7 separate regions of the Homo sapiens genome follow, and regions 1, 2, 4, 5, 6 and 7 are each linked to region 3. The links are contacts of gene promoters, found by promoter capture Hi-C in blood cells and fetal thymus (Javierre and others, 2016). All regions are on one chromosome and are shown on one strand. Each heading gives the region's core, a stretch centred on a gene start or on the middle of the fragment in contact. The rest is flanking DNA. Distances are from core to core; before and after follow the strand shown.

What was found. The method cuts DNA at HindIII sites, captures the fragments that hold promoters and counts their contacts. A CHiCAGO score of 5 or more calls a contact.
Region 1: a fragment that was not itself captured here is called in contact with the fragment with the promoter of HAO2 in region 3 in 3 of 17 cell types (endothelial precursors, M2 macrophages and erythroblasts); the score reaches 12.3 in endothelial precursors.
Region 2: a contact is called between a fragment that was not itself captured here and the fragment with the promoter of HAO2 in region 3, in 1 of 17 cell types (endothelial precursors). The highest score is 12.5, in endothelial precursors.
Region 4: a contact is called between a fragment that was not itself captured here and the fragment with the promoter of HAO2 in region 3, in 1 of 17 cell types (endothelial precursors). The highest score is 5.9, in endothelial precursors.
Region 5: a fragment that was not itself captured here is called in contact with the fragment with the promoter of HAO2 in region 3 in 1 of 17 cell types (endothelial precursors); the score reaches 7.9 in endothelial precursors.
Region 6: a fragment that was not itself captured here is called in contact with the fragment with the promoter of HAO2 in region 3 in 9 of 17 cell types (endothelial precursors, M2 macrophages, naive B cells and 6 more); the score reaches 21.3 in endothelial precursors.
Region 7: a contact is called between a fragment that was not itself captured here and the fragment with the promoter of HAO2 in region 3, in 1 of 17 cell types (endothelial precursors). The highest score is 12.8, in endothelial precursors.

Annotation. Positions count from the first base shown.
Region 1 is chr1:118,088,471-118,091,525 of GRCh38, forward strand. The region is part of intron 10 of SPAG17 (sperm associated antigen 17); the gene reads right to left. Among named protein-coding and RNA genes, the nearest start is that of SPAG17, 95 kb to the right of the region's middle. The HindIII fragment of the contact is 1,291 bases long and covers 774-2,064 here.
Region 2 is chr1:118,068,379-118,071,595 of GRCh38, forward strand. All of the region lies in intron 17 of SPAG17 (sperm associated antigen 17), which reads right to left. Among named protein-coding and RNA genes, the nearest start is that of SPAG17, 120 kb to the right of the region's middle. The HindIII fragment of the contact is 2,099 bases long and covers 464-2,562 here.
Region 3 is chr1:119,367,465-119,370,708 of GRCh38, forward strand. HAO2 (hydroxyacid oxidase 2) reads left to right here and starts at 1,321. Exons shown (of 8, transcript NM_016527.4): 1 at 1,321-1,438. It overlaps HAO2-IT1 (HAO2 intronic transcript 1), which reads left to right and starts at 1,482. Exons shown (of 2, transcript NR_046780.1): 1 at 1,482-1,544; 2 at 2,620-2,867. The HindIII fragment of the contact is 4,151 bases long and covers 1-1,905 here.
Region 4 is chr1:118,003,155-118,006,372 of GRCh38, forward strand. SPAG17 (sperm associated antigen 17) reads right to left here. Exons shown (of 49, transcript NM_206996.4): 32 at 2,260-2,448. Among named protein-coding and RNA genes, the nearest start is that of WDR3, 75 kb to the left of the region's middle. RefSeq lists an enhancer at 883-1,398. The HindIII fragment of the contact is 1,160 bases long and covers 1,030-2,189 here.
Region 5 is chr1:118,104,606-118,107,843 of GRCh38, forward strand. The region is part of intron 4 of SPAG17 (sperm associated antigen 17); the gene reads right to left. Among named protein-coding and RNA genes, the nearest start is that of SPAG17, 79 kb to the right of the region's middle. The HindIII fragment of the contact is 1,232 bases long and covers 686-1,917 here.
Region 6 is chr1:118,143,214-118,146,080 of GRCh38, forward strand. The region is part of intron 3 of SPAG17 (sperm associated antigen 17); the gene reads right to left. Among named protein-coding and RNA genes, the nearest start is that of SPAG17, 41 kb to the right of the region's middle. The HindIII fragment of the contact is 2,678 bases long and covers 1-2,675 here.
Region 7 is chr1:118,122,750-118,125,872 of GRCh38, forward strand. All of the region lies in intron 3 of SPAG17 (sperm associated antigen 17), which reads right to left. Among named protein-coding and RNA genes, the nearest start is that of SPAG17, 61 kb to the right of the region's middle. The HindIII fragment of the contact is 535 bases long and covers 1,291-1,825 here.

The DNA of each region.
Region 1 (3,055 bases), core at 169-2,668, 1.3 Mb before region 3:
ATCTTCTAAAAACTTCATGGAGCAATTAAAGGCAAATATTAGTGTGATTATCTAATTGGTTAGAAAACTAAGACAATCAAAAACCAGAAAAATGTATATGGGAGGTATCAGAGATGATAGAGTCTGAAAAGGACTTTAAAATAAACCTTTTATGTATTAACAGAAAAAATGTGTCACATCCATGCACTAAAAACAAGAATAGGCAATTGTAAAAAAAAAGTAGAGAATTTACAAATTAAAAACATTACTGCCAAAACAAAACTTCAATAGCAGACTGGACTCCCTGAAGAAAGCATTAGTAGGAAGTTAAGCTGGAATTCCCAAAGGGATAAAATTGAAAGAAAACTTAAAAGACAAAGAGAAAAACCCTGAAACTCCAACACCCATTCAATAATAATTAAGGTAAATCGATAGGAAAAATGATATTTGAAGATAGAAGACTTTCTTAGAATCTTCTGAATTTAACAAATATGTATTTAGTGTCTACTATGGGTTAGGTGTGGTTATTGTGTGCTGAGCATACAGCAACGAACAAGACTACATTGTTACTGCTTGCATGGAGTTTATATTCTAGTAGGAGGACGGGGAAGGGAAGAAAAAAATAGCTGATCAATATATTGCAAAAAGAAAAGCTGTTGATAAGAAAATAAAACAAGGTGATGTGGTAGAGAGTGCTGTGTGTTGTGTGGGGAGAGGGTTCTTTAGATCAGGTGGTCAGAGAAGGCCTCTCTAAGGATTGACACTTCTACTGGAGACCCTCCAGAAAGAGAGAAAGCTTTCTAGGCAGAGAAGGTAGAGTAAAAGGTTAAGATAGAATTAAGCAACATATTTGAGGAAAAACCAGAAGGCCTATGTAGATGACGTGTGTGTGTGTGTGTGTGTGTGGTGGCAGGTAGGAGGTGAGATGACAGGTACATCTCAGAACCCTATTTTTAGGGCCTTTATGGGACAGTGTAAGGAATTTTTATTTCACACAGAATGTGACTGGAAATCAGATGATAATTCCCTTACACCATAAGGACAAGTATGATAAAATCATACCTAGACATAGTCTTGTGTTATCAATTATAAAGAGAAAACCCTAACAGCTGCTAGAAAGAAAAGTAAAGATTATCTTCAAAGAAAAAAGTATCAGATTGACATCAGACTTCTTAACAGCAACATTAAAAGGAAGACGACAATGCAGAAATGGCATCCAAATACTTTTCTGTGCAGATTCACTAGGTTTTAAGTCATTTCTGCTACTTATTACTTGAACAAACTTGAAAAACTTTTTGTGCCTCAGTTTCCTTATCTGTAAGATGGGTGATACGGTTTGGCTCTGTATCTCCACCTAAATCTCATCTCAAACTGTAATCCCCACGTGTCGAGGGAGGGAGGTGATGGGAGAATGAGGGTGGTTTCCCCCATGCTGTTCTTATGATAATGATGGAATTCTCATGAGACTTGATGGTTTTAAAAGTGGTAGTTTGTTCCTGCTGTCTTGTGAAGAAGGTGCCTGCTTTCCCTTCTACTATGACTGTAAGTTTCCTGAGGTCTCTCCAGCCATGCGGAACTGTGAGTCAATTAAACCTCCTTTGTTTATAAATTACCCAGTCTGGGGTAGTATCTTTACAGCAGTGTGAAAATGGACTAATACAATGGGGGATAAAAACAGTTCCTACTTCATAGGATTGTTCTGAAGATTACATGAGTTAACATATTGAAAGCATTTAGAACAGTGCCTGGCGCCTGTAAGTGCTACATATGTGCTACTAGTATGAATCACAAACTCTTTCAGATACACATAGAACCTTCACAATGACCATGTTACATCAGGTCACACAGGAAGCCTCAGGAAATTTGAATTTGCTAACTTGCAGAAAATGCCTACTGATTATAATGTTAAAAAATTAGAAATCATCAGTAAATAATGGAAATCAAAATAATTCATGGGTTAAACATGTAAATAAATAAAAGATTTAGAATTGAATACACTGAAAGCATCAGGATGCAAACAAAGAAACACTCGAAAAGAAATGTATAGCCTTAAATAAAGCAAAAAGACTAAAAATAAATGAAGTAAGCTTTCAATTAAAATGAAATACAAAATAAATCCAAAGAAAGTAGAAAGATGGAAATGACAGAGATGAGCCAGACACGGTGGTTCATGATTATAATCCCAGTGCTTTAGGAGGCTTAGGTGGGAGGTTGGCTTGGGGCCACGAGTTAAAGACCATACTGGGCAACATAGCAAGGCCTTGTCTCTCCAAAAAAATTATTTTAAATTCGCTGGGCATGGTGGTGCATGCTTGTAGTTCTAGATACTCAGGAGGCTGAAGTGGGAGGAACACTGAGCCCATGAGTTTGAGATTGTGAACTATGATTGTGCTACTGCACTCCAGCCTAGGGGACAGAGAGAGACCCTGTCTTAAAAATAATTAAATAAATAACAAATATATAAATAAATAGATGAAGAAATTAATGAAGAGATTAATAAAATAAAAAGTAAAAAGGTGTTGATCAATGAAACCAAATCCTGGTTCTTTGAAAAGACCAATACAATAGCTATGCCCTTAACAATCATGATCAAGAAAAGGAAAGCACAAATAAATAACATCAGTCATGAGGAAAGGTACATGACCAGATACAGAGGAAATTTTAAAACATATTTAAGTGAATAGTGTAAAGCACATTGTATCAGATTTAAAACTCCAATAAAATACTTATTAAGACATATTCATTAAGAAAAAAGCTGATGACAAAAATTGGCCTCAGAAATACAAAAATCTAGTTAAATCTACAAGCATGAAAGAAATTTTAAAGATAAAGACTATTAACAACCTCACCCACTTGTCCATGTTCTCTTCCTTTTCCTCTTCCATTAAAATGACACCAGACACAGAGTATTGAGGATATGTTCTACCAAAACTTCAGGGAATGTTACATAAATGGCTTCAGAGCATAGCAAAAGAAAAGAGAATTGAAGCTGAAGATTTAAGCAGACTTTAGTTTCATCTGAACTATTCTAATCTTTATAAAGGAGAATGCACTTAGGTATTATGAGTATAATTTT
Region 2 (3,217 bases), core at 263-2,762, 1.3 Mb before region 3:
ATCTAGTACTTACTGATGTTTTTTTGAAAAGCAAATTCTGCTCACACTATAAACCCAGAAAACCATTGCGTTTATGATGAATATATATCCTTTCTTTTAGATAATAAGAGCTTTGAAATCTTTGGGTTTTCATATTGCTTTGGGGGTGCTAAAAATACAGCACTAAGTTTCACAGAACTATAGCTGCTCTCAATCAATATGTAAAGTTTTCATATCTTATTTTCCCCTTTTTTACTAATTGGTGCTTGTCTTTTATTCTGTATTAATATTATTGGTTACGTTAGTTATTTAGTTAAGTTTTTCATTAAAAATGAGTACCTATTGTGTGGCAGGCACTGTGCAGGTACTAGGAAAACAAAAATAAACAAAATAGATAAGATTTTCCTCTAAAATATGATAAAGATTTTTTTGTTGTTGTTAATTAGAGACGGGACCTTGCTATGTTGCCCAGGCTGGCCCCTAAAGCTTAGCCTCAAGCTATCCTCCTCTCTCAGCCTCCTGAATAGTTGGGACTACAGACCTGTGGCTTTATAGATTATTTTGGAGTTGAAGGAGGTGTGTCCGAAAAGATGAAATTAATGGAATATCTGATATATAGAGAATGGATTAGAGCAGGGCAAGAGTGGAAGCAGGTAATCAGGAGGATATTGTGGTGGAATTAGAGGGTGGTAGTCATATAAAAGTAGGCCGGGTGTGGTGGCTCACGCCTGTAATCCCAGCACTTTGAGAGTCCAAGGTGGGTGGATCATGAGGTCAGGAGATTGAGACCATCCTCACCAACATGGTGAAACCCTGTCTCTACTAAAAATACAAAAAATCAGCCAGATATGGTGGCACGTGCCTATAGTCCCAGCTACTCAGGAGGCTGAGGCAGGATAATTGCTTCAACCCAGGAGGCGGAGGTTGCAGTGAGCCGAGAGCATGCCACTGCACTCCAGCCTAAGCGACAGAGTGAGACTCCGTCTCAAAAAAAAAAAAAAGTGGTGGTAGCTGTGGTGCAGAAGAGCTTGAAGATATATTTGGAGGTATACCCCTTAAACACTGATGATGGATTAGGTATCAGGGATAAAGGAGAGGTTGGAACAAAGGATGATTCTGGCTTTTTGCTTGAGCACTTGAATGATGGTGACCTTTTCTGAGATGGACAAGGGAAGAAATGCTTAGGTGGGAAAAATATGAGTGTCATATAGGATACTAAATTTGAGATGGATACTAAATTTGATCAGAAATTCAGGTAGAATTTTGAGTAAGGTATAATAATGTGAATCTCTAGAGAGAGATAATTTAAAAGATATGGGCATCAGCATTAGATAGTATATAACAGATGAGATCATCAAAGAAGGGTGTTTACAGAGGCAAGAAGATGCTCTAGGGCTTCCTGGAGGCTCCAGAGCCTTGAGGCACTTCCATATTAGATGCTGGGTAAAGGAGGAAAAGTCAACAAAATTCCAAATACAACACTGAGGAAACCAAGAGTGCAGAGTGTTTCATGGGGGAAGGGATAAGCTCTGCAATGCTGTTAAAATGTCAGGGAAGATGAAGAAAGATAAGTGTCCATTAGATTTGGCAAGACAAAGATTATTGATTACCTTGAAAAGTGCAGCTTCATGGAGCAGTAAGGACTGAGAAAAACTGAAATAGTATAAAGTCTGAAGTAAACTTTCAGTTACAGAGAAAAGATTGAACATTTGCACTCTCTAACGCCTCATTAAAAGAACAGTAACATTTTGTTTGTTTTTTTAATATCATAAAATTGAAAGCCAACTTCAACTTGTTGAAGGAGAGGAGATAAAGGCACCGGAATTTTAGAAGCTGGAAAGCAGAAGGATAAATGCTAAATGACTTAGCAGAATACAGAAAGCCAAGTCCTAAGATTAATTTTAGGAGAGACCACAGGCAACCCCATTTGTGTGCAGAAATATAGAAAGTCTCAGGATATGGAAATACTAGTCACCTCTGCAAGTGGGGTGAAAGTGGCACTGAAAATAGGAAGATTAGTTTAAAATCTTTTTAAGAAGCAGTTAGGCCCCTGGATTCCATTAAAATTCTGAGCAACTGGGCTATTGCCTATCTCCCACTCTAGCAGAGGGGAAGAGGGTAACTACAGATGGTAGATGAATGGGTTCTAAGAACAGTGGACCCAACGCACACTGACAGAGAAGTACATTCTAGAAAAAAAGGGAATTGTGTAAAAGCCTAAATCAGCACTGCTCAATAGAAATATAAAGTGAGCCACAAATGTGAGCCACATGTGCAATTCTAAATTTTATAGTAGCCACATTTTAAAAAGTAAAAAGAAACAAGTAAAATAAATGTTAATGATATATTATATTTAACCTGATAGATAAAAATTCTTATCATTTCAACATATAAACAATGTAAAAGTAATCAATGCCACCTTTTTAAAGTCTTGGAAATTGAGTGTGTAATAGCACTTATATAGTGTATAGCACAGTTATTGCACATCTCAATTTGGTCTAGATTCATTTCAAGTATTCAGAAGTTACATGTGACTAGTGGCTACCACACTGGATAATGCAGATCTAGATAATAAATGTCAGAAGCTTAATACCCTTCCCTCATTACCTAGCTCTCAAAACACTGACAGGAAGGCTTATGTCTTTCAGACAGAAAATTAGACTTTTTTTTTTTCATGGAGAATTTAAATGGCCCAAGAAAACAGAACTGACATACCAACAATGGTGAGTCTCCTATGGAAATCTCCCAGTCAAATCACCCAACAATGAACTCAGTTATTGACAACCCCCCACCCCACCTCATATAGCACTTCCTATCATATTTTTATTGTTTCATTATTAATATGAGCAAAGAGGACAATATTATATATTACCCTCCAATGTGAAAAATGAAGACGAAACAAAAAAGACAAAAAATGAGAAAAGAAACTTGGAGGAAAAAGAGATAATTCATGGAGAAGACAACTTCAGAGGACTTTAATATCCTCATAGAGATAAGAGAAGGTATTATATCAGAAATGCAGTGGCTCACACCTGTAATGCCGGCACTTTGGGAGGCCAAGGCGGGTGGATCACCTGAGGTCAGGAGGTCAAGACCAGCCTGGCCAACATGGTGAAACCCCATCTCTACTATAAATACAAACATCAGCCAGGTGTGGTGGCAAGTGCCTGTAATCCCAGCTACTTGGGAGGTTGAGGCAGGAGAATCACTTGAACCTGGAAGGCAGAGGTTGCAGTGA
Region 3 (3,244 bases), core at 71-2,570:
GTGTGCTCATCACCAGGCTTCCTTCTGGAAGGGAGAGACAGAGTCGGAGTCTGGAAAACAGCAAGGGAGGGTCTGGATCAGGGGACTGTGAGCAGGCCAGGTGTTGTGAGAGCTGACCGAGGACATGGCCTAGAGGCTGATTATGGAGATTGTGAAAATTGCTATGGAAAAGAAATTTCCAGAACCCAGATTTTGGCTACTTTTGAAAGCATTTTTGAGGTAATACTGTCCTCTAGTGGCTAGATAGCAGGTAGGGATTACCCTCCAAATAAATAGCCAATGAGCCTTGAGTGGAGATGGTATGACAAGTCAGTGGTAAATTCATCATTTTGCTCTCTAACTACAGGTTCTAAAGGAAAGGCAAACCCCACTGCTATGGTCATCGGTACAGCTCAGGATTTCGGCCTCCTCTGCTCCGTGTGTTGGCTACAGGCTAGGTTCAAATCCCAATTCTGCTCTTTACTGCTGAAAGGCTTTGGGCATGTTCGTTAATCTCATTTTCTCTTCTGAAAAAGAGACAATCTTGAAAAGATTGACCTTCCGTGAAGATCAAATGAAGTAATGCGTGTAGTGTGTCTGGCACGTCGTAAGCGCATCACACACGTGAGCTGTGGCAATACTAAGGAGCAGTGGCAAGAGCTGGGGGAGGAGTGGAGACGAACAGACCTGGACAAATTAGTGACCTTTCTGGGACCCCTACAGAACTCTTCTGGAGAAATTAATTCTATTTTTCCATGTACTTTTAAGTTTGCTTTTCCTAGCATTTCTTCTACATTCCTGAATAATTTTCCACTCAAAAATTTCACTGGTTCTCCCTGACTCCCATATTAATCTAGACATAATTACTTCCCCAGAACAGTTCTGTGGGCAGGGAGGGCTCTACACTATGCACCCTCCAAAATCCCCAAAGCTCGGACCGTCCTGGCCTGGGTCCCCACTGCTGTCCTGCCCATGGGCTCCCAGGCTGTGCTTGCTCTTCTCCCACCCCAACCCCATCACCACAAAAAGCCCCTCCTCCAACCCGGGGACTTTTGTAATTTCCTACCTGAAATCATCCACTCCCTACCTCTAACAATCTGTGATGAGCAGAGGACAACATCAAGTTTGAATTTAGAGGTAGGGAATGGGTGATTTCAGGTAGGAAATTACAACTTCACTTTGAAGTTTAATTTTGTAATAAACTTCACTTAATTTTGAAGTAAATTTGCAAAGTCAGCAAAATTCTTTCAAAGTCAACCTTGCTCTGGCCTAGTTGCTTATTTACTGCTAAGCTGGATGTTTTCATTAAAAGATTAACTTTGAGACTTCAGCCTCTTCTTTAGCCTGAACTGTGGGTAGTGATGTGGTGTGTTTCCTAACACCTCCGGCAGTGAGCCAGGCTTTGAGTGGCTGCGTCTAAACACTTCTTTCCCTGAGGACTGGAAGACATTAGAATAAGGTTTGTCATTGAGTGTGTTCTGTGTGCTTGGAACTGAGAAGGGTGATGAAGTGCCAGATAGGATGGGAATGGAAGATATCGTGGAAGCCAACTATGAGTTTGCAAGGCAAGGACCTTGGCAAAGATGGTCCTAGGGAGACAGGTGTTAGGGAACTCAGAGGGCATGGGCAAAGGAAGATTTGGTTTCAAAAAGGATACAGACAGAGAAGGTTAAGTCTAGGAAGTTGAGTCTTAGAATTGTATGGTGGAATATTCGTGGGTGTCCATAGGAGGAAAAATGGGTTAAAATGTTTTCACTTGACAGCGTTCTGAAAACCTAAAAGGTATTGCTATTGCCTTCAGGGATATATTTAGTATTCTGACCACTGCTTCCCGGCCACAAGCAAAAGAAAACAGTGACATGGCTATGCTCCTAAAAAAGTAAAGAAGTTAATGTGTCTCAAACAATGTAGTTCCTTTGAGCAATAAGCTTATTTGGAACAAATGGGTTACAAAGTCCCACTAATGAAGAGCCTCTGATTGTGTTAAGTTGAATCTACAGATCAACCTGCGGAGAACTGCCAAGAACGCTAATGAAGACAGGGAGGTACTGGTATAAAGATAGATAACAGATCAATGGAACAGAATAAAGCGTCCATTAGCAGGAAGCAAAATCCGCAAACTTTTATTCTTAACTACTACTATATTCTGCATTTTACAAGATCCTTCAATTCTCACAAGATCCCTATGAGATAGACAGTAATAACCTAATTTAAAGATAGATGAGAATTGGAGCTTGTCTAGAATAGATTGAGTGGAACATCACTTGTGGTATATCATTTGAGAGGTAATGGGAATATTGCCAAATTCCCAGGTAACTCTCCCCTCAAAGGGACTCCTGTTGTACTCTAAATCGTATCAGCTATCAAATGATGAGCTATGAAAGTCTGTCTTCTTCGACTGTAAGCTTCTTGAGAGCAGAAACTGATGTGATAAAGGTCCCCCCCCATATCTCTAGTGTTTAGCATAATACTTTGATATATTATGTTAAATCAGGCTATGTTATAGTAAAGAATAAACCTTAACAACTTAGTGAGATAACACATAAATATTTATTTCTTCCTTACACAATATCAGCTGATCTCCAGGGCTACCCTTTTCCAAATGGCGTTTTGGGAATCCAAGTGGCCTTTCTCTTACAGCTTTGCCTTCTTGAGGATGGAGGATCGCTGTAGAGGAGGAAACAAAGCTGGAGGGTCACATACCAGCTCTTCAATCCTTGGCCTAGAATTCACACCTGCTATTCCCACTCCCAGGCCATTGGCCAGAAGAACTAGTCACAGAGCCATGCCTGTATTTAAGCAACAGCGAAATGTTAAGCATGTGGGGAGCAGTATATGCCTCCGCCACCCTGGCTGAGAGTGTGTGTCAATAAACCTTCTTGGATAAACTAATGAGTAAATCTGACAGAGGGTTTAAATTATACTATGACAGAAATACTCAAATCCTGAAGCAGCTTTCCACTTCCAGAGCCTCAGATGAAATCACACATGTCATCAACAGGAGGAATAATGAACATGGAGCTGCCTTTATTAACAATCTAGTCTATACAAGGCACTGTTCTAGAAATTTCAAAGGGGCCATACTGCTTAGTCCTCATGGCAGCCCTATGGGATGGATGTTAATATTCTCCTTTAACAAATAAATTTTGCACAGAACCGTGGTGAGCCAGTAGTAGAGCTGAGATTTCAGCCTATGTTTGCCAAGTGCCAAAGCTTATAATATAGTCTGTCTTCTCTACTCCACTGACTCCCTCAGTCATTAGTT
Region 4 (3,218 bases), core at 360-2,859, 1.4 Mb before region 3:
CCACTCTCTTCTGGCTTGCAGGGTTTCTGCCAAGAGATCCACTGTCAGTCTGATGGGCTTCCCTTTGTGGTAACTCGACCTTTCTCTCTGGCTGCCATTAACATTTTTTCCTTCATTTCAACCCTGGTGAATTTGACACTTGTGTCTTGGGGTTGCTCTTCTCGAGGAGTATCTTTGTGATGTTCTCTGTATTTCCTGAATTTGAATGTTGGCCTGCCTTGCTAGGTTGAGGAGTTCTCCTGGATAATATCCTGAAGAGTGTTTCCCAACTTGGTTCCATTCTCCCCATCACTTTCAGGTCCATCAGTCAAACATAGATTTCATCTTTTCACATAGTCCTGTATTTCTTGGAGGCTTTGTTTGTTTCTTTTTACTCTAAATTTCTTTTCTCACTTTATTTCATTAATTTGATCTTCAGTCACTTATACCCTTTCTTCCACTTGATCAAATCAGCTATTGAAGCTTGTGCATGTGTCATGAAGTTCTCATGTCATGGTTTTCAGCTCCATGAGGTCATTTAATGTCTTCTCTACATGGTTTATTCTACTTAGCCATTCGTCTAAGCTTTTTTCAAGGTTTTTAGCTTCCTTGCGATGGGTTTGAACATGTTCCTTTAGCTCAGAGAAGTTTGTTATAACTGACCTTCTGAAGCCTACTTCTGTCAACTCATCAAAGTCAGTCTCCATCCAGCTTTGTTCTGTTGCTGGTAAGGAGCTGTGATCCTTTGGAGGAGAAGCACTCTGATTTTTAGAATTTTCAGCTTTTCTGCTCTGGTTTCTCCCCACCTTTGTCGTTGTATCTACCTTTGGTCTTTGATGTTGGTGACCTACAGATGGAGTTTTGGTGTAGATGTCCTTTTTGTTGATGCTGACACTATTCCTTTCTGTTTGTTACTTTTCCTTCTAATAGTCAGGTCCTTCAGCTGCAGGTCTGTTGGAGTTTGCTGGATGCCTGGGTATCACTAGTGGAGGCTGCAGAACAACAAATATTGCAGAACTGCAAATATTGCTGCCTGATCCTTCCTCTGGAAGCTTCGTCCCAGAGGGGCACCTGCCTATATGAGGTGTCTGTTGGCCCCTACTGGGAGGTGTCTCCCAGTTAGGCTACACGGGGGTCATGGACCCACTTGTGGAGGCAGTGTGTCCCTTCTCGGAGTTCAAACGCCATGTTGGGAGAACCACTGCTCTCTTCAGAGCTGTTGGACAAGGATGTTTAAGTCTGCAGAAGTTGTCTGCTGCCTTTCGTTCAGCTAAGCCCTGCCCACAGAGGTGGAGACTAGAGGCAGTAGGCCTTGCTGAGCTGTGGTGGGCTTTGCCCATTTCGAGCTTCCTGGCTGCTTTGTTTACCTACTCAAGCCTCAGCAATGGCGGACCCCCTCCCCCAGCCAGGCTGCTGCCTCACAGTTTGATCTCAGGCTGCTGTTTAGCAGTCAGCAAGGCTCCTTGGGCGTGAGATCCACCAAGCCAGGCATGGGAGAGAATCTCCTTATCTGTTGGTTGCTAAGACCATTGGAAAAGCACAGTATTTGGGCAGGAATGTCCTGTTTTTCCAGGTACAGTTTGTCATGGTTTCCCTTGGCTAGGAAAGGGAAATCCCCTGACACCTTGCACTTCCCAGGTGAGGCGGATGCCCTGCCCTGCTTCATCTTGCCCTCCGTGGGCTGCACCCACTGTCCAACTGGTCCCAGTGAGATGAACCAGGTACTTCAGTTGGAAATGCAGAAATCACCCATCTTCTGTGTCGATCACACTGGGAGCTGCAGATTGGAGCTGTTCCTATTCAGCCATCTTCAGGATTGTGTTCTTGATTTGGCACTCAGCTTGGATGTTGGTCCACTTCCCCACTTTCAACCCTACTGTATCCTTCTTACCATCTTACTCTGTGACTACTCAAAGAAACTTGCCTCCTGTCTTGTGTTTGCTCTGACTTCAACTTGGATAAGGACCATTGCCACATCATTCTTTATGTTGGCATTATTTTCAGATGTCTGCTACTGTTTCTTCCTTTCTGTTCTAATTATTTATTTAGCCCTAACATTTCTATCCCACCAATTATTCGGCTTGCCATTCTCCATGAAAGTACACTTAAGAATCAAAGGAAATGTATTGACATTCATTACTGCTTGCCCAAAGTATTGGCAGTAAGTGGATAATTAATCCCAAGGCAACTAAGGTAAAAATCTACATGGAAGCTTTGTAGTGTGAAATATCTCAAAAGCAAAGCCACAGGCTCTCTCTCCATACCAAAGGTGCACTTTACCTGAAAAGTGTTTCCCTCAGGATCCAGAACCTCACAGATAACCTCTGAAGTATGCCTCATGATGTACCTGCCAGCTCGCAGCTGCTCACGCTTTTGAAAAGGATAGTATATATTACTGCTTGACTCATGGCAGTACACAGCTGAACAATCCTTGTCAATATAAAGAGAGCCTGTGTTTGGAGGTAACACCTGAAAGAGTAACAGAAAGACAGAAATTATTAAAATTTTCTTGTTAAATATGTGGGACTTGGAAAACCATTTTAGGAGAAAGAATACCCATAGATCCTAGTCACAAACTGTGTTTGCAGGAGGAAAACATTAATCAAGGGAGGACTTAAGGTTTGGAAAGGGCTACTCGATAAAGAGGCAAACTGAATAGTTAGGATATCATTTCTCCTGTATCCTCATATCTTATCTGCTCGCTTTAATATCTCTTCTAACTAATTGTCTTATGCCCCCTTATTTCTAATATTTAACATATTTTAGCTGAGGTTACATACATGTTTGGCCCTATTCATCCTATTCTAAATGTTTGGGGTTGCTCATGATCTTGGATAAGAAGCATCTCTGAAAGGGTATAAAACTGTGCGATAAGTGCTCTTAGAAACTCATCTCTCCTCTCTCTGGTGGCTGACACGGTCCTTAAGTAATAGACTTCATGTAATGAATTCTGGTTCAAACAGATCTTTTTCCGAAATATAATTTACATATCATAGATTTACCCTTTAAAAGTGTATAATTCCGTGGGTTTTAGTATATTCAAAAATGTGTGAAGCCATTATCACTAATTCCGTAACACTTTTATCATCGCCCAAAGAAACGCTGATCCTGTTAGAAATCTTTCTGGATCACTAGGCCTTAGGCCCTGGCAGCCACTAATCTACTGTCTATGGATATACCTATTCTAGATACTTCATTTAAATGGAAGCATGTACTCTGTGGCCTTTTGTGTCTGGCTT
Region 5 (3,238 bases), core at 52-2,551, 1.3 Mb before region 3:
TTACCAATGGGTATAGGGAGAGATGCCAGCAGAAAGAGACAGCGAAGTGGATAAAAAGATAGGGAAAAATATATAGTGTGAAGCTAGAGAACTAAGAAACCAAAAAGGTCAAAAAGACAAGAATTGGCAGTTGTAGGTAACATGAAGAAGAGCAATTATGGTGGAGTGTGGAGGTGGAAAATAGGAGGGCAGTATCAATAGAGAAACCACTTTTATGGACAACTGTTTCTGGAAGTTTGGTTGTGAAGCAGAACCAGAGCTCTGAGTTGTTCAGTGGGTGAGTGGATGCAAGGGGGTATGAGGTCAAGGTATGTATATATGTAAAGTCAAGAGATGTTATGCTTGCAGGCTGATGGAATGATCCAGTAGAGAAGGAGACAGTGAAGATACGGGGCTGAGGAGACTGAAGTTCTCTAGAAGTCAACATGGGATAAGAACAAAAGAATGTGCCAATGACTGGACCTTGATAGAAGGAGAGGGAATTTCTTAGTTTCATAACTAAGAACAACAGGAAGAGGCTGGGTGCCAGAAACAGAGACATCTTGATGGTGTTGAGAAAATGTTTCAATTTTTTCAAGTGAAGCATGAGGCAAAGTCATCAACTGAGAAAAGGCAGGAAAGAGGCAGGAGGTTTGAATAGGGAAGATGACGTAAGAGTTATCTTATGTCAGAGAGTGGGGGAGCAAGCTTACCGAGGTAATATGGTAGGACTCTGCCAGTGGTGAGAACTTATTGAAAATGTTGAGATTGTTAATTTTACATGAAATCAGTCTGTTTAATTGTGTGAATTCCTCCATTTATGTTTAGCTGCTCAGGAATAGAAATGAAAATGATGGATCACTGAGTTCATCCTGGGAGGGGTTTTGCGAAATGATTGTGATGGAAGGAGAGAAGAGCAAGGGGAATCAAGAGTAAGCAGAGAAACGATAATACTGATTGGATCATGGAACCTAAGCCAAACAAATAGCAGGAGAGGACAATGAATAGAAAGTGTTGGGATTTATGGACTGGGATTTATAATGTGGTTGAAGAAATTATGTAGGAGGATATTGGATTATGAGTAAGAGACAAGGATAGGAAATTTCCAAGGTTAGAGAACAGGACATCTCAAGACTTTGGAGGTGATGAGGGCTTCAGTGATGACAAGGTTCAAGGGAGGCAATGGCTGAGGTGGAGTGGAGGAAATAATCATTAGAGAACTAAGAGGCCAGTAAGAAGAGCATTACTCAGTAATAAAAAACATCAAAAAAGAAAAAAAAAGAAGAATCAGAGAAATCAGAGAGGCAGAGAATAACAGTGTTAATTCCAAATTGTCCAGGGCAGAGATTTCCTGATAGACAGATAGGAGGGTCTGGGTAACCTGGGAGTTACAGCCATGTGGTCAGGGGGCTGCATCAGGCCATCAGGACTGTAAACCTTTAAACTAACTCCCTAGTTAAGACTTGAGGTACTACATAAGTTTCTGACAGTTTGCCTTCCTATGTACAATTTGTCTACAGGGAGAAAACTTTCAGTTAATGCTGATGGGTCTGTCCCACAAAACTGACAGTAATATTTACTGTAGTAAATTAGCAAGGGGCTATTCTAATCATGGCTGTCATTGTCACTATTATTATCATCCTTATCATTATCAATATTACATTTCTATTTATTACATTCTTACTATAGTCCAAATATTCTATCTCGTCAAGTCTTCACAATAACTACAATAGGTAGAGCACCATCTTCATTTTACGGAGGAGAAAACTGAGTCTTAGTGAGGGCAAGTAGTTGTTCAAACTCAAAGCTAATATGTGGCAAAGCCAGGCCAGTCACCCATGCTCTTTTTTAATGGGTTTGTAAGGCACAAGTCAGTGCCCCTGAGTGCAGTTGGCCTGGAAGCACTGGTAAGACTCATGCAGGGCTCTCTAACAGCCAAGCTTTGGATCATAGCAAATTTACTAATTTGCAACACCCTGTGCAACATGTTGGTAGACAGCTGGCCTTGCTACAGAAAAGTTCCAATGTAGCCATCAAAAACATACCAGAAACTTTTACAACTGCAATTTTAAATAAAATCTCAGGGTGATCTTTTGATCTAAAAAGATGAAACCATTTTAGATTAAATTATTTTAAAGTTTACCTGGAAGAATAAACATTAATTCATTTATGCATTCATTCATTCATTTCATCATTTCACAGATACTCCTCCCCATCATGTGTTAGACAGTAAGAGGCCCTCTGGCCCTCCAGGTTCTCCTAGGTAGGGTGTGAGAGCCTGTGCAGCCACATAAGTCTCATCCCTTTGAAGCCATTTTAGCAAAGACTGGAGTTCTAGAAGCTCAGGAACTCTCTGGCCCTTTCTTCTATTTGGTTCTTGGGATTCTGGGATTCTGCAGAAAGGAGGGCGGACTACAACCAAACATTCAAAGGAAGTGCTAAATTCTAGTAGCAGAGTATAGTTTCCAGACATCATCATCTTTAATTTGATCTCACAAGGCAACCTGTAAGATGGGTAATTTTATCCCCATTTTATAAATTAATACAGAGTTTGTCCGAAGACACACAACTGTGGTAGAGAGTGCTGGTCTGACTTCAAACCCTAAACTCATTTTATTTCCATGATACTCTTGTCTGTCTTTGATGCTCTCCTGATTTCTCCATACCTGTCTGCCTCCCTCTACTCTGTCTTCCCAGGGGCTGAATCACACTTGCTTGATGCCCTTTTCTTTCTCCAGAGCACTCCACCCACCTCAGCCATTCATCCTGCTCACTTCCCTTTCTCTCTCTGCTCACTTCTCCTTTCTCTCCCATTCTTTTTGCCTTTGCATTCCTCTAGCAAGGCCAAACTTGGGAGACTGGAGAACAGTATATTTTAAACTAATTTCCATTAACATTAAAATTATCAATATTTACCTCCCCCACCTTCGCAAAAGTATTAAAAATGTTTAAAGTTTTTATAGATGAGTCTCACTCTGTGGCCCAGACTGGACTCAAACTCCTGGGCTCAAGAAATCCTCCTACCTCAGACTCCCGAGTAGCTGGGACAACAGCTGCATGCCACCATGCCCAGCTAAAAGTATTTTTAAAGAGGACCCTTATAAATCCTTATTTACTTCTGTAAATAACTTTTTCTTATAAAAATTATTACTAAAAATTTGGAAAAAAATATAAAGAGCTTACAAAAGCCACCACAATTCTACCACTTGGGGAAGATGAGTGAAGAAGATGTGCAATGCATTCTTTTGAATTAACTTTC
Region 6 (2,867 bases), core at 87-2,586, 1.2 Mb before region 3:
TTAATTCTAAGTAACTAGCAGTAGCTTATATTGAAGACATATTAAACCACAACAGTCACTTCCAGAATTTAAACTATTTATTCTCAGCTTGTGTGTGATGCAAGTAGAAAAAACAGACTTCTGAATCAACAAGTTACCTAACCAGTCTGATTCAAATTTCATCATTCATAGGTATCTGAAAGGTTGTTAAGATGGTTAAGTTAGCCAGGTGCAGTGGTTTACACCTATAATCCCAGTAATTGGGCTGGCAGGGGCGGGAGGATAGCTTGAACCCCAGGAGTTCAAGACTTACCCAGGCAACATAGCACGCTCCTGTTCCCCACAAAAAGAAAAAAGCCAGCCAAAAAAAAAGAGATTAGGTTAGTTGATATATATGAACTACCCAGCACACAAGACTTGGAATACATGTGTTCAATAAGTGGTAACTTTTATTATCACCATATGTAATTATTGATTTTTCACAGTTTTAAATACAGAAACAGAATGATACAATCTTCTTGATTCCTTCCCCAGCACCCCTCCAATCCTGGTGTCTGTAGAGTATAGGGTGTTAAGAGGTTTCAGAAACCACCCCAGCCCAGACCTGGAGGAGAAGCTGTGATGACTTCTCTTCATTAGCTGAACCTCACTTTATTCTTGTGGCTGGCCCTCCACTGAGGTCTGTCTTGGAACTCCTGATGAGATTCCTGCCTTGCCCACTGCCTGCAGGTCCTAGCCAGCAACCCAGTCCTTGTGTGGCATGGGCTTCCTGCTGCTGGATCCCCGGCTCCACTGCATCACCACCACACCTCCCCAGTGTCTACCTCCCCTCTCCTGGACTGCTAACTATTTGCCACATGGGCTTGGCCAGCTGCCTGACCCCCAGGGTGGAAGAGAGCTGGGGCATGATTTGAATTGTTTTTGAATGCCTTTACTTGAGTTCTGCTTTTCTTTGAAAATAGAACTCCAGGTTTCTGATCTGGGAGGCAAACGTATTCACACCCTGGGAGCCCATTCCTAAAGCAATGGAGCCCTGACCTTCTGCCCCTCAGTGACTAGCTTGAACTTGACTTTCTCTGCTGAGCTGCTTTGGTGCCCTCCAGAAATGTGGGGGCCCAGGGCTGTTAACACATCTGACTGCTCTTTTCCCCATCTTGACAAAAGTCATTCATTTGTAACTCTTCATAGCCCTTTGTAACCGTTTCTAGCATTACTATTTCTCCTCTTCTTTCCTTCTTCGGGTAAGAAATGCCTCCAAAACCCAGATTTTGGCACAAGAACTCCTAGATTGTTTTTATAGTCCCAACGTAGCACTTCTTTGTTACAGCTTGATATTCCCAAATTTTGTTCCAAGTCTCATTATTTTACATTTATAAATATCAGGTTGTATTAATTGGTTCCAGCTTTAAAAAATGTTCCATCAGGGGTTATTTCTGCTATTTTGATAGTGGTTTCTAAATGTGGAGTGCCGAGGCCCTGGTGTGGGCCACGTTCTGTAGGCATCCCTGAAGGACTGATGTGGAACGGAAAGATCCGCAGATTCTGAGTCTTGCTGTATTCTTTGAAGACTGTACTGGCCATAATAGCTTCAAAGAATTTCAACAAGTTCCTAAGACATGACCTTCCCTTTCCGAAAATCACGTTGGCCAGGCTTGCCTTAATCAAGCTGTGCTTTTCTAAGCATCCTTTTACTTGATCTCCTGCAGCAGTTTTTAATACTTTTCCTACAAGTGAAGTTAAACTAACTGGCCTGCAATTTCCTGGTGTGTCCCTAAGCTCTATGAAATAACGGCATTAGGTTGGCTAGCTTCCAATTCTTCCAGAATTTTTTTGTTTTGTTTTAAAGCGCGGGATTGAAAAGGCCAGAGAATGCTTCCTGTCTCCCTTTTCCTTCGTTTCTTCCATGACATACTGCTCTCTCTGTTCCCAGTAGAGCTGCCATTTTAATAACTTCAAACCTCTTAAATGTTTTCACATATTATTTGTACCTATCTCTGAAGCATGAGTTTTCCATTTTTCATTCTGACAAGGGCCACCCCCAATATAAGGGCTTACAATTCTATTAAATTGACTATTAATTCAAGGCACTGTTTAAAAAATGAGTTTCATATCAGGAATCTGAAAAAGAGTGGCAAAATAGATTATAATTAAGCCTGTGTTCTCACTTGTCAATTACTAATAAATACATGTTGGAAAAGACCTGAGAAAAATTTCTATACATCCAGGAAACAGAAGTCAAAAAATGGAACTATTACATCTGGGCATACTAATCTGAGGCACTAGCATAGTGTCTTAAAGTATGGTGAAATGCATTAGATCTGAAGATCTAATTTGCATTCTACATTTTATTAAACTGCATTTGGTCCATTATTTTTAAATCTAATATCAGAAAAATCTTTCCACATTTGATGGTCTCCCGGTTGCAATAGAAAGGCCCGTAGAAATATTTTAAGATATATTTGTTAAAAAGTTATTTTAAAAATTATTTTCTTAAAAATATGAGAATTTTTTTACTGACAGGAGTAAAAAAAAAATTAATAATTATTTGCATTTACAAAATTGCACCATATCACATAATGTTTAGGATAGTTCAAGTTCTTTATTGTACAGAAACTTGGAAAATTGTTTTGAAATAAGTGAGTCATCAACTAGAGCATAAGAACTTTTATTCTTTATAGACAATTTTTGTTTCAGTAAGCTTTTCATTTTTTTTATTTTTCATTTTGTGATGACCTAATGCGTCTTTTATAAATAAGTCACAGGCACATAAATCACGGCCCATTTGTGTGGATGAAGGCTCATTTCCTGGTTGGTAGGCATGGTGACCACCATCATGAAATGAAAAGAAACATGAAGTGGAATTTAAAAACTTTTAGGATGGTTGGTTC
Region 7 (3,123 bases), core at 308-2,807, 1.2 Mb before region 3:
AAATACTTTGCATGGTGAATGACATATGCATGATAAATGTTCACTAAAGTCAGTACTTATGGTTATTCATACATCCAGGACAGAGTTGGGATTCTTGAAGATTCCACAGCCCAAGTTGTGAGAGCAGAGAATGGAATGGAATGAGGAGCAACTGGGCAGTGAGACAGTGACCTGAATTTATTATCAACTGGCCATAACCTGGCTACCCCTTTTATTTAACCCTTTGTCCAATCTGAAAAGGACAAATTGAGATATCTTTAGAGAGAAGCAGAGATAAAAAGAAAAGGTGTAAAAATGTATTTTATTTTGGTGCAGTGTATAATGGGGAGGATGTAGAGGAAAAAATATGCTATTAATTTCTTCTCAAATGTGAGATGGAGGAATTCCATCAATAGTGTTCTGTAATTTTACAGCCTCCTTTCCTGTTCCCTCTGCTCCCTTCCCTCCTTCATTCTTTCTGCATTTATTTAGGGCCAACTATATTGTAGTTATTGCATTACTTGATCCTGTATGTGTCTAGTCTATCCAATTCACATTCTTTAAGTAATGAGTAATTTCCAATGAGGCATAATTGGAAAAACAGCTGAAAGGATAAGGGTAGCAGTGAGAGGGGGCTATGGAGAGAAACAGAAAAAAAGAGAAGAAAAAGAACAGGAATGACTGAAACATATTTTCTCACTTTGAGAAGAGGAAAAGAAAATAAGCAATATTAAACTGTCTATACATAAATTTAAAGGTGACTGAAGATATAGGTTCCATATAGATCATACTGTCTGTCTAACGCAAATGGAACGTTATGAAAGTGCTCAGACCACAGCTTGGTGAGAAATTCATAATGATGATAAATATCTGTAGCAGGTGACTCCTAGATCATTTTCAGCTGTCCATAATTAAACTGGTATCCATCTCTCGACAATGTCAGGGCTGTAAAATAATTCCAGTCATTGGACCCCTTACATCTGTGCTGAAATGAAATAATATTTGGCAGTAACAAGGAGTCACTGAAACTAAATAAACAACCCCTTTCAAGACTACATAAAAGTTGGTAACATAATAACATTTGACAGGGATTAAGACCTCTTTGGGGCTGTAAGGAAGTTTCAGAAGCAGCAATAACAAATACATGGAAGGTAGAACAGATCTATGCTTTAACAGACATGTATAATTTAAAATGTAATGAATTTCCTACGGGAGGTGTACATTTTGAACAACCAATATGTGCATGTCAAAAAGCACAGGACTATTTTAGAAATGTTTGCTGGAATTACTCTTCAAAGAAGGAAAAAGCAAAGCTTCCTTTTTATTAAGGAGTGTTTTTGTTTTTGTATACTTGCAAAATGTATAAAGGCACATGAAGCTGAATGTGATAACGTATGGAAGAATGACATACCAAGTTAAGGGCTTTTCTTTAGGTGTGTATTAGCAACAAACGATTCTACTATCATGGCAATGTTTTGTTTTGGTTTTTAGACTAAGATCTTTTCCTTAGTCTAAGATGCTCCCACCCCTCTGAAGTCATTCTTGGTCCTTGCAGTTGTAGTGACCTTCCCTTCTGAACAACCCTACAACGTTTTTTGTATATTTCCTAAGGGATTTAGCTGTCTCTTGTATTAAAATTATTTGTGCACAGGGTTTGTCTCCTCTACTAGCTTGGAAGGTTAAATCCTTTCAGATTCATCTTTTGAAATCCCCTCACAGAATCTGATGCATATATAGACAAACAGTATATTCACTCCTTAAATAAACATAAGAATGGCATCTCTAGAGCTTTTTGTTGTTTGGCTTGAAGGTAAATGTTTTTGATTGTTTATAGCTGCAATTACAAAGCTTTAGGAATATATTTCAAGTAGTAGTAGGTGCTCAGACTGTGTAACACACAAATGGTTATGTAGCACACACCCTGTGCTGGACAAGGACCGTTCCAGGCACTTCACATATTCCAATCCATTTAATTTTCACCTACACTTTTGAGGTGAGTATTCCTATCACCTATTTTATTAGATACAGAAACTGAGGCCTGGTGATCACACAGCCGGTAATTAGTAGAGATGGGATTTGAACCCAGGCTATCTGGTTCCAGAATCCTGTTTCTAGTCAACATATTGTGTGGCCTCACAGTGGGCCTTTTCACCCCTTAGCTGGAGCTACTGGACTCCCATCTTGGGTCACGGTCCCTCTTCTCCTGGGCATGGATGTGTCCTAGTCCCTCCCCAGTCTCCATGGCCAATCCCCATCTTAGCTGCAAGAGCCTGAGAGCCTTTTAGCCCAGGTTTTTATGTTTAAATATTCTTGCTACCCTTACTAGTTTTGCTCCTACCTGATGCCTCAACTCTAAATAGCTGAGCTGTTTCTTTTTTCCTGAGACCTAGTGGGGACCTGTGACTCAGGACCCTCAGTCCTGATAGCTCCAGCTATTGCTCGTCTCCTGGCCTGAGCACATATCAATTTTTTAAAAAATTTGTATTATTTTTTATTGTATTCATATATATATATATATTTTTGACATATAATAATGGTAAATATTTACGGGATACAAAGTGATATTTTTACACATGTGTAGAGTGTGTAATGATTAAATCAGGGTAATTAGCATATCTATCACCTCAAACACTTATCATTTCTTTGTGTTAGGAACAATTCAAAATCTTCTTTTTTAGCTATTTGAACTACATACAAGTTATTAGACTATATTCACCTACAGTGCTATAGAACACTAGAATTTATTCCTCCTATCTAGTGGTAATTTTGTATCCATGAACCAACCTCTCCCTTTCTTCCCCTTTTTCCTCCCCTTCCCTGACTGTAATAATTGCGACTCCACTCTTTACATCTATAAGCTCACTTTTAGCTCCACATATGAGTAAGAACATGTGGTATTTATCTGTCTGTGTCTGACTTATTTCACTTAACATTAGATTGTTCAGGCTCATCCATGTTTTTGTAAATGACAGGATTTCATTCTTTATTATGGCAGAATACTATTCCATTTTGTATAAATAACACATTTTCTTTATCCATTCATCTGTTGACAGACACAGATTGATTCCATATCTTGGCTACTGTGAATAGTGCTGCAGTAAACAGGAGGGTACAGATATTTCTTTAATATACTGGTTTCTTTTC